Regions from separate parts of the Homo sapiens genome. Here region 1 is linked to region 2. The links are contacts of gene promoters, found by promoter capture Hi-C in blood cells and fetal thymus (Javierre and others, 2016). All regions are on one chromosome and are shown on one strand. The core of a region is centred on a gene start or on the middle of the fragment in contact, and the rest is flanking DNA. Distances in the headings are between cores, read along the strand shown.

Evidence for each region. The method cuts DNA at HindIII sites, captures the fragments that hold promoters and counts their contacts. A CHiCAGO score of 5 or more calls a contact.
Region 1: a fragment that was not itself captured here is called in contact with the fragment with the promoter of PTF1A in region 2 in 1 of 17 cell types (M2 macrophages); the score reaches 5.2 in M2 macrophages.

Annotation. Positions count from the first base shown.
Region 1 is chr10:23,689,007-23,693,821 of GRCh38, forward strand. No RefSeq gene overlaps it. Among named protein-coding and RNA genes, the nearest start is that of OTUD1, 250 kb to the left of the region's middle. The HindIII fragment of the contact is 2,235 bases long and covers 292-2,526 here.
Region 2 is chr10:23,190,518-23,195,392 of GRCh38, forward strand. It overlaps PTF1A (pancreas associated transcription factor 1a), which reads left to right and starts at 1,795. Exons shown (of 2, transcript NM_178161.3): 1 at 1,795-2,797; 2 at 3,187-3,728. The coding sequence starts at 2,014. The coding sequence ends at 3,389. RefSeq lists an enhancer at 4,684-4,875. The HindIII fragment of the contact is 14,718 bases long and covers 1-4,875 here.

The DNA.
Region 1 (4,815 bases), core at 159-2,658, 500 kb after region 2:
TGTAACCTATCTGCTCAATGATTTCAGCTGCAGTACTAACTTCATTACTTCAACCTGGCACCTTTGTTGCAGCAAGAGACAAGTAGCGCTGCTTAGCACAAACCAAGAGTTTTTTTTTTTTTCCTTCTGTATTTTCAGGAATGCCTTTGCTCTCTTCTCTGAGTTTGAAAGTGAGAGGCAGTTCACTGTTTTTCCAACAAAGTCAAGGCTACTCTTCTGATTGCTGTTTAATCAGACAATGGAAACTCAGACAGCTTACAATGGTGGCCATTGGTAGTTACCACTGGTTAAAGCTTACATAATTGCCCCTAGGCCCTATGTTTCATGTGATAAATCTGTGATCATCCATAAAGTGGTTGGTTATCTAAATGTTGCAGTCTATAATTTGCAAGCTATCCTTTATGTGGGGGCAAATTATACATTGCCATCTTCTTGTTCAAGTTACTTCTCCTGGACAAAGATATCTTAACCATACTAAATGCTGGCTGGGTTTTTGGATGAAAAAGGCTGAAAAGATTACTTGGAACAGTTTGCAACATGAATACAACTTAAGTATCATCCTACCATTTCTGTATCTCAGAGGTAGGTGGGGATAAACTGCAGGTGCATCTCTTTGCCAGAATATATAGTAACATATTTTGGGAAGATTGTATAATGTAGTGCCCATTTTTACCATAGGTTTCATGAGATAATTATAAAGCACTAAAGCAAATCAGCATACTAGACTGGTTGAATATGCTAACATTCTAATTTTGTATAGAGGGTGATTACTGTTATTATTTATAGAGTGCAGTAAGTATATATAATGCTTTATAAACACGTAGGCAGACAAGGTGCCCAGAGGTGCCTAAATTCTAATTGCTTGAATTAGACATTTTAAATGAAAAAAAGCTACTCTGCAAAAGTGGAAAGAGACTAGGCATGAAATTGTGTTAAATAAGTGTTTTTGAAGAACTGAAGGATAAAAGCAACTGTTCTTTTAGATTTAGGTTGAAGTTGCTCCATAGAAGTCAAGAAGAACCAAAGTACTGTAACTAAAACCATCTAAAAACACTTCTTGAAACATTAAGAGAAATTCCAACTGGTTCCCATAAATTCAGTTCTCCCCTACTTGCCCAGGTCTAGGTCTGCATTCCAAGTTCCCAGAGCACAACTCACAGGGAGTTCACAAAAAAGGGGGGAAAAGATGACTGTGGGCTCTTTGAGTGGAGAGACCAAGTCTGATAGGTACAGACTTTCTAAATCCATTCTCTTGGCTAGGACTTTTCTTGACCCAGTAATGGGGAAAATGAAAACTTTGCAACTAGCGGCAGTGCTTTCACAGATAAGCAAATCTACATATAGAGGTACCCTTTATAAAAACACGTAACGATCTACCCTTTAAGGAAGCCCTTCTTAAAACTTGAACTGGAAACAACAATGAATTGTCCTTTTACTATTGATCATTAGGTTTGATAATGTCACAAAGATGTTCTTTGATGTCAGTGCAGTCCACTTAGGAAGAGTGTTCCATATATCACAAAAGATTCAGGGAATGGTCTATTGTAAGTTCCATACGAAAATCTATGATGAAGTACAGTTACCACATATAAACATATGTGTAAGTAAAATGTCCTTATTTCTAAATATAATAGCCGAGTCCAACTTTCATCACAAAATTATTGCTAATCTGTCATTATCCACAAAATAGTTGGTTATCTAAATGCTTCTTCATTAACATTTTAGTATGAAATTTAACTTGGCACTACCTTGGGAGTACTATTTATAAATGTATAATGTCAACTACTTGTTTTGGTTATGATATTTTTGAAATTTGAATTTATTGAGTTTATCAGTTTAGGCCTTCTTATCAGTTTAGGACTCCTTAAAAAGGAATTGGCCACTTCGATTTTTGTCTTCAGGGTTAACTCTATCTGATTAGAGGGCACTACACAAGCCGTTCAAATACAAAACTATTAATATATCATGAAGCATAAAATATTAAGAGCCAGCTCAAGTCCTGAGAGAAGTTACAGGCAAATGCCAGTGTTTTTTGCCAAATTTGCTATGCTCTGAAACAAGTGTTTAAAATGTTTTGATCATGTTTTCTTTATGATGAGCTATTTTAGCCCTCTTCTAAATGTCACTCTAGAAACATACCTACATAATTGAATAGATTTATTAAAATCATTTTGGCAATATTTTATAAGTGGTGTATATATATGTGTGTATCTCTGTCTATATACATATATATGCATATATGTATAGCTACATATACAAATACGTATATATAGGTATGCTATAAATATGTACAAGATTGGTGCTAACTGGTTTTCAGGGGCCTATAGGAAGGTAAGTCCTATGAGAAATAATTAATTTTTATTCTTATTCTTGTCTTTTTAAAATTTGCTTTTGTGTTACAGAAAATGAGAAGCTGCCTCCAGGATAGGGGGAGCTTGTTTTGCTGTGGAGATAGCTTCTAGAAGGACAGAATTATGATTCTCCATAGTTTTGCCAACATGTATTTGCTAGAGGGTTTGGCTTAGAAGCTTTAATGGCTATGGAGTATGTGATGAAAAGCCACTGCAGTATTAAAGTAGTTACCTTCCCACTCCAAGACCCTACTCTTTGACACCCAACAGAGCTATTCCTTCCTTGTAAACATGATGTTCTGGCTCCATAGCTATGGATTGATGTACGTGTGTGTGTGTGTGTGTGTGTGTGTGTGTGTGTGTGTGTGTGTGTGTGTGTGGCTAATTTTCTACCTGGTCCCTTTATTGTGCTTGACAATTGAACCACCTGGCCATAAGCGGCTTGTGTTTGAGAGCATAGTCATAAACATTGGCCTGTGGCCTGTTGGGCTATAATTGCAGTTGCTGGACTCTGACTCTCCTCACACTGATTAGGGCACAGTCCAGGGCACGTTGAGCTAACAGTGTTTCTGAACTCACCACCAACACATATACCCAACTTAAATGATGTGCTGCTTCCTAAGCAATGGGAAATATTTGTAATGTACTTTGAACAGTGCTTCTGAGGTCCAAACCCCCAAAATTTAAAACATGTACATGGTAATAGACCAATGCGAAAGAAATCTCACAGGTTAAGGGCAGCAAGTGATGTTTCTACGGACAGTTCAAATCCTCACTCAGATTGAGTCACTGTTTAGCCATTGGTAGTTACTGTTTTCAGAGTTCATTTTTTCCTCTCCTTTTCTTTCCCCTCTTTTTTCTCTTCTCTTCCCCTTTCCATCTTTTCAGTTTCATACATACATACATATGCATGTGTGCATGTGTATATACGTGCACATGTGTATATATGTGTAAATATGTGTATGTATATACACATTTGTTTCACATATATGCTATAGGGTTCAGCTTAAAACAGATTTTAAAATGTTATGTTATACTCTTTAAAAAATAATTCAGTCAACATATATTTATTAAGTGCCTGCTGTTTATACCAGGCACTGCACTGGGTCCTAAGAAAAGAAAAACAGAATTCCTGCCCTGGAGGAGCTTGTAAGTTGAGAAGGAAGGCAGACATACAAACAACCAATCACATCAGAAAGTAAAACAGTTGTTGTAGAGTTGTGAACAGAAGGCAGTGGGAAATAAGGAAGGAGGGCTTAGGCTTGCCACATCAAATAAGCATTACTTACTGTGGCATGTTAGCCAGGCTGATACCTGCTAATATGGCATCACTTACTTGCTGCATTGAACGCTTGGAACGAAAACTGTGACCCAACAAAGAAGGTTCCTGTGTACCAGCATAGCTGCCTCTTGACAATTTTGTTTTCAAATCATGCCTTTAATTTGTCAATGACTTGCCTATTCCCACACTATCAATCTGAATTAGCATTTTCAGGAACAGTGATTCCTACTGAAAAATTGCTGCTTTTGAAAGATGCAGAACGAGGAACTAGTTATGTAATTCCTTCATGATGTCAGGGTGCTTTCACATTTGCACGTTAAAAAATAGGACGGTTACAGTTGCAAGAAGCCCTCGGGGCAATGAATCTACAGCCTTCTCTAGTACTCCTTTGTTCTAATTAGGAACATGCTGGGCTGTACGTTACTTATTTTAATTATTCTATTTATTCGTGAAATCTAATGCATCGTTAAGGATATCCATAATTTTGTCTAATTAGCTAGAATTTGAATTTTCAAATGCGGGAGTGTTTAAGATCATTAAACCTAAGACAGTAGACTAGGATCTCAGGCTTGCTTCTATTCTGTTGAGCTTCCATTTGAGAATCAAGAGTGTTAATGAAACTTTCTGCTGCTTCATCCAGATCTGACTCTACTTCAGTAACTTTAAAAAGGTTGAAAAACAGTGTATGTGGATGGAGAATATTTTTGCCTCTTTTACTTGCCACTTCCCACTCTCTACCCTTTCCATTAAAAATATTTTAATGAATAAAAAGTCATCTTGGCGATTAAACAGTGTCTGGATTCAGGAAGCAAGACGCTCGCAGTTAAAAACCGTTGCCACTCGACGGTGGCAAAATTGCTGGCTGCACTGGAGATCACTGCAGAGCGCTCCTGATGCCTCGATGCTGACGGCGGATCTGGCGCGGGCTGGGGCGCATTGCACATTCTGCTCCAGCCGGGAGGCGGCGGGCGGGCAACTCCGGGTTGGTCACTCGGCAGCCGGCAGAGGTGCGCAGAAGGCGCACAGAACCAGGCACTCAGCCTCAAGGATGTCTGGGTCTCTGCTAAGGGACAAACGCTCCAGGAACAAGGAACAACCTCTAGCCATCCCAGCACCACCTAACGAACCTTCGTTTGGCTCTCTCGCAGAAAGTCTCTTCTATTTTTGGCCCCCAAGACAATT
Region 2 (4,875 bases), core at 545-3,044:
AGGGGAGGGTGCACATCACTAGCTGGCTAGATCTCTGGCCTTGATACACACACACACACACACACACACACACACACACACACACCCCTTCCCTTCCTTTGAGGTCAGAAAGAGAAATCTAATTGCAGAGAATCACAGCTCAGGCTCTATCACCGGGAAACTGTCCATATTTGCCTTTAAGGATATGCAAATAGTGAACGACTCCTTCACTGTGAAGGCTGAGAAACTAACACAGGAAAAAACTACTGAAAACCAGTCAGTCCTTGGGTTAAAATTGTTTGGGGTTGTTGGCAGTTCAAGGTAAGGCAATCTCTGGCCTTCTAACCTTATATATCTTTTGGTTTAACTCTTTGTTCTCAATTCAGTTAATTACAGTGCAATGTCTAAAACCAAGAAGCGTATTTAAATCACTAATCTGAAGAGGCATGACTTGGAATTTGAGAGGCGTCTGAATACCCAACAGAAGCCTCTAGTGAGACAAGTGCCTGAAAAAGGAAGCGGCCCAGGAGGACGACTCCTTTCAGTCCTCTGTAGAGAGAATACGCACGATGGCTGCGCTTCTGAACTCTCCCGGGGTGGAAGCTGCAGCCTGGCTTTTAACCGGAATTGCCCAGACCTTGAAAGTGTTTCTTTGTTGCTCTTAAAAAGAGGAATTCACGTTGCATCGCAGTCTGTGATAAAGTCTGTCTTGGGGCAGAGCTGCATACGTTTTGTGTTTTTTTTTTTTTTCAGAAAAGAAAGGTCGAGAAAGAAAAAAACAAGTCATTCAGGGATGGTCCCTGTGGCCAGTCGGAAAGGTGAGAGACTCGGGCTTTGAAAACGATTCACATTCTGCCCTTTAACTTCAATGCCTTCCCTCCGGACTGCGCCGGAGCAGACGATTCAATGGACTCCTTTTGTATCCAGTTTATTGCTCAGAATCCCTAGGGTCTAGATTTGCTCTCAGAAGAAACGCGCCCCGCTGAGCTGCTCTGGGGGCTGCCCCTCCCGTCTCCCCATTCCTTTCTCCGGGCCGGGGAGGGCAGGGGAGGCAGCCACTGAGCCGATGTCGCTGGGGACCCGCACCAGGCACCACAGCCAGGCTCCAGAGCGGAGTCCCATAGGTGCGCTCCCAGCCCCCGTGTTGCGTCTGGAACGCAGTGGGAGTGGGCCCGGATCACCTTCCAATGACACCCGCATATACTCTGCAAACTGTGCAAAAGCCCTTGAAAAGTCCAGAGATGGGACAGAAGCCCCCAGCAGAACCCAGGCCGGAGCCCCGCGCACCTCGGATAAGGGGGTGGCGGAATGCACCCACCTGGTCCCTGAGGGCAGCACCCTTAGATTGCCCAGGCTGCCGCGGAGGAGGACGATCGCCGCGCGGGCTCCGCTCTCGCCGTCTGGGCCACCGGCGCGCACCCCTAGGAACTTCTCTGGCCGCGTGTAGACGCGGCGCGCGGCTGCCCCAGTCCCAGGGCGGAAGGAGCCGGCGCTGCTCAGCGCGCGCGGGTACGCAGCGGGCACCGCGGGACGCAGGTGCCCCTGGAGCCGCACGCGGGGCAGGTACAGAATCCAGTATGCAGAGGCAGAGGAGAGGGAAGAGAGCGGTGCGAGGAGCCCCGGGCCGCGCGACCCCGCCTTTTCCTCGCCCCAGGAGCTCCCAAAGGGAGCAAAACGCCCCCCACCCCCGCCCACCGCCGCGCCTCCGGGCCCCCTCGCCGCCGGCACACCGCGCTCTGATTGGCTGGCGCGATGGGTCCCTGGCACGCGCCTATGGATGTTGTTATAAGAATCCTCGCGTGCCGGCCCTCAGCTCCAGGAAGTCCGCCACAGCCCTCCCCAGCGCAGCGCGAGCGCGGGCCAGAGCGCAGCGGCCGCGGGCACTCCAGGGAGGCCCGGGGGCGGGCAGCCCGGCGGCCGCCTAGCTGCCCCCAGCCAGGGCCCCGGGAGGGAGGGGCTCGGACGGGCCTTAGAAACTCACCAAGAACTAACACGCGCAGCCCGGCAGTCCCGCTGCCCACTGCGGCGGCGAGCATGGACGCGGTGTTGCTGGAGCACTTCCCCGGGGGCCTAGACGCCTTTCCTTCTTCGTACTTCGACGAGGACGACTTCTTCACCGACCAGTCTTCACGGGACCCCCTGGAGGACGGCGATGAGCTGCTGGCGGACGAGCAGGCCGAGGTGGAGTTCCTTAGCCACCAGCTCCACGAGTACTGCTACCGCGACGGGGCGTGCCTGCTGCTGCAGCCCGCGCCCCCGGCCGCCCCGCTAGCGCTCGCCCCGCCGTCCTCGGGGGGCCTCGGTGAGCCAGACGACGGCGGCGGCGGCGGCTACTGCTGCGAGACGGGGGCGCCCCCAGGCGGCTTCCCCTACTCGCCCGGCTCGCCGCCCTCGTGCCTGGCCTACCCGTGCGCCGGGGCGGCAGTACTGTCTCCCGGGGCGCGGCTGCGCGGCCTGAGCGGAGCGGCGGCTGCGGCGGCGCGGCGCCGGCGGCGGGTGCGCTCCGAGGCGGAGCTGCAGCAGCTGCGGCAGGCGGCCAACGTGCGCGAGCGGCGGCGCATGCAGTCCATCAACGACGCCTTCGAGGGGCTGCGCTCGCACATCCCCACGCTGCCCTACGAGAAGCGCCTCTCCAAGGTGGACACGCTGCGCCTGGCCATCGGCTACATCAACTTCCTCAGCGAGCTCGTGCAGGCCGACCTGCCCTTGCGCGGCGGTGGCGCGGGCGGCTGCGGGGGGCCGGGCGGCGGCGGGCGCCTGGGCGGGGACAGCCCGGGCAGCCAGGCCCAGAAGGTCATCATCTGCCATCGGGGCACCCGTAAGTGCTTCCGCTTCCCAGCTCAGGGAGAAGGGGTCGGGCACTCGAAGGCTCCGGAGGGGCTGGGGGAGCTGACTGCCAAGCAGACAGTCGGACCGACGGATTGTCGGTGGGCACGGAAAAACTTGAATGCGAGCTCGCGTTTCTCGTTTTTTTTTTTTTTTTTATTTTTCTGCCACGTTGACCGCGGCTCTCAAGGGCGCGCGTCCCCGCCAGACTTGCAGCTCCTCGGATTCCTGGGAGGGGACGGTGGGGACTTGAAGTGTGGAGGAAGAGGGTGGTTCTAGTATAACCGGAGAGCACCCAGGAAAGGGTCCTAAAGGACCTGATGGGACCAATGGGAATGTGGTTGGATATTCACAGTCTGTTTTCTCTTCTCACCTGTCCAGGGTCCCCCTCCCCCAGCGACCCTGATTATGGCCTCCCTCCCCTAGCAGGACACTCTCTCTCATGGACTGATGAAAAACAACTCAAGGAACAAAATATTATCCGAACAGCCAAAGTCTGGACCCCAGAGGACCCCAGAAAACTCAACAGCAAATCTTCCTTCAACAACATAGAAAACGAACCACCATTTGAGTTTGTGTCCTGAGAAGTCCCAGACTCGGCTGAAGATCTGATTATGTCTCTGTGCATATTGTACATGTAAATATCTATAATGTAAATGTAATTTAAGAATCAAATTTTTCGAATGGCAATCAACTGTTTATTATTTATCTATTTATTATCCTGTTGAGTTGATGAAATAGATGATTTCTTTTTAAATATATAATTTATATAACTTATCCTGATTTTCTGAAAATATGCAATAGCCTATGATTTTCCTGAACTCTGTGTTGTTGGGAGAACTCTGGCCAGAAAACGTCCTGCTTATTTATTGCCAGATATGGTTTATTTCTAAGCGTTGTCAATAAATGCTATTTACACCTTTTCCTGAAGGTTTTTGAGTACATGATTTGATAGATACTCTTTAAAAAGAATTAACTTAGTAAAAATTAACCAAACCAGAGACTCAAAGTGTAGCTTTTTAGTAAGAAACTACATTTCAGACTTAGCCTAAAGGTGGGTAGGTTAGAGGATTAGACCTCAACTTTCTATGACAGCACTTCATCTAGGTCGCCTGCCCTACACAGCAACTTTTGTCTGTATTTTGGGCCACCTTCCAAACACCCTATGCAAATACATCCTGGAGTATTTATTGTTCCCATTTTGCAGATGGTAAAGTTAAGGCTCAGAGATGACATTTGACTTACCCAAGGTCACCCCTACGTTGTCTATTCCTGGTGTATAAAAGTGAGCGCGCGGTGCACTGTGGGAGCAGGGAGCTAGTGGGCTAAGCGAATGGGCCTTTCTGCTTCCACTGGCTGGGAAAGGGGCTACTCTTGAGCTGCCCTGTGACCAACCTCTTCGGCAGCAACAGCATCAGGTACCTGGAACTCAGGCTTACTCCTCACAAAGGAGATGGGACAGGCTACGGTGCCAAAGCCTAGAGACCACTCGGAGGCCACTCAACAAAATCCAGGGTCTTTTAGGTAAGGTAGGAAGAAGCCGCCCGCTACCCCTGCCACCTTCGCAACAGGCTTACTTCCAAAACTGAGTTCGTTTTGCCTTCATCAGAACTTGGCCCTCCTCGGCCAGCAACCTGGGGAGAAGGCGAGCCTGAGGCGGGGGGCGTAGGGTAGCCCCCTAGCGAAGGGGAGAAGAGCGAGGGCGCGGCCGAGGTCGCTTAGCCAGAAAGCCTGGGAGTCCAGGCTTGGGTTTGTCTCCTTTGTGGCCAAGAGCGCCTCCCGGGCTCTCGGGGCGTCCTCCCCTGCCCGCCAGAGCCGGGGCGCCGGCACTGGGCCCTGAGGCCTGGCGCGCGCGCAGATGGCGTTGGCGCGAGCGCGGACTGGAGACGCGCTCATTGACGTGGCACCGTAGCCCCGTGCGGCGCAGGCCTGGCCCAGGCGGGGTGTGGTTCCGTGGGCCGCAGCGGCCTGGTGGGCGAAGGTACAATTGCGGATAGCCTCTAATACTCACGGCCCTGCCGCAGGACAATATGTTGGCAGCATGCTAATTGCTTTAACCTAGTTTCAGAC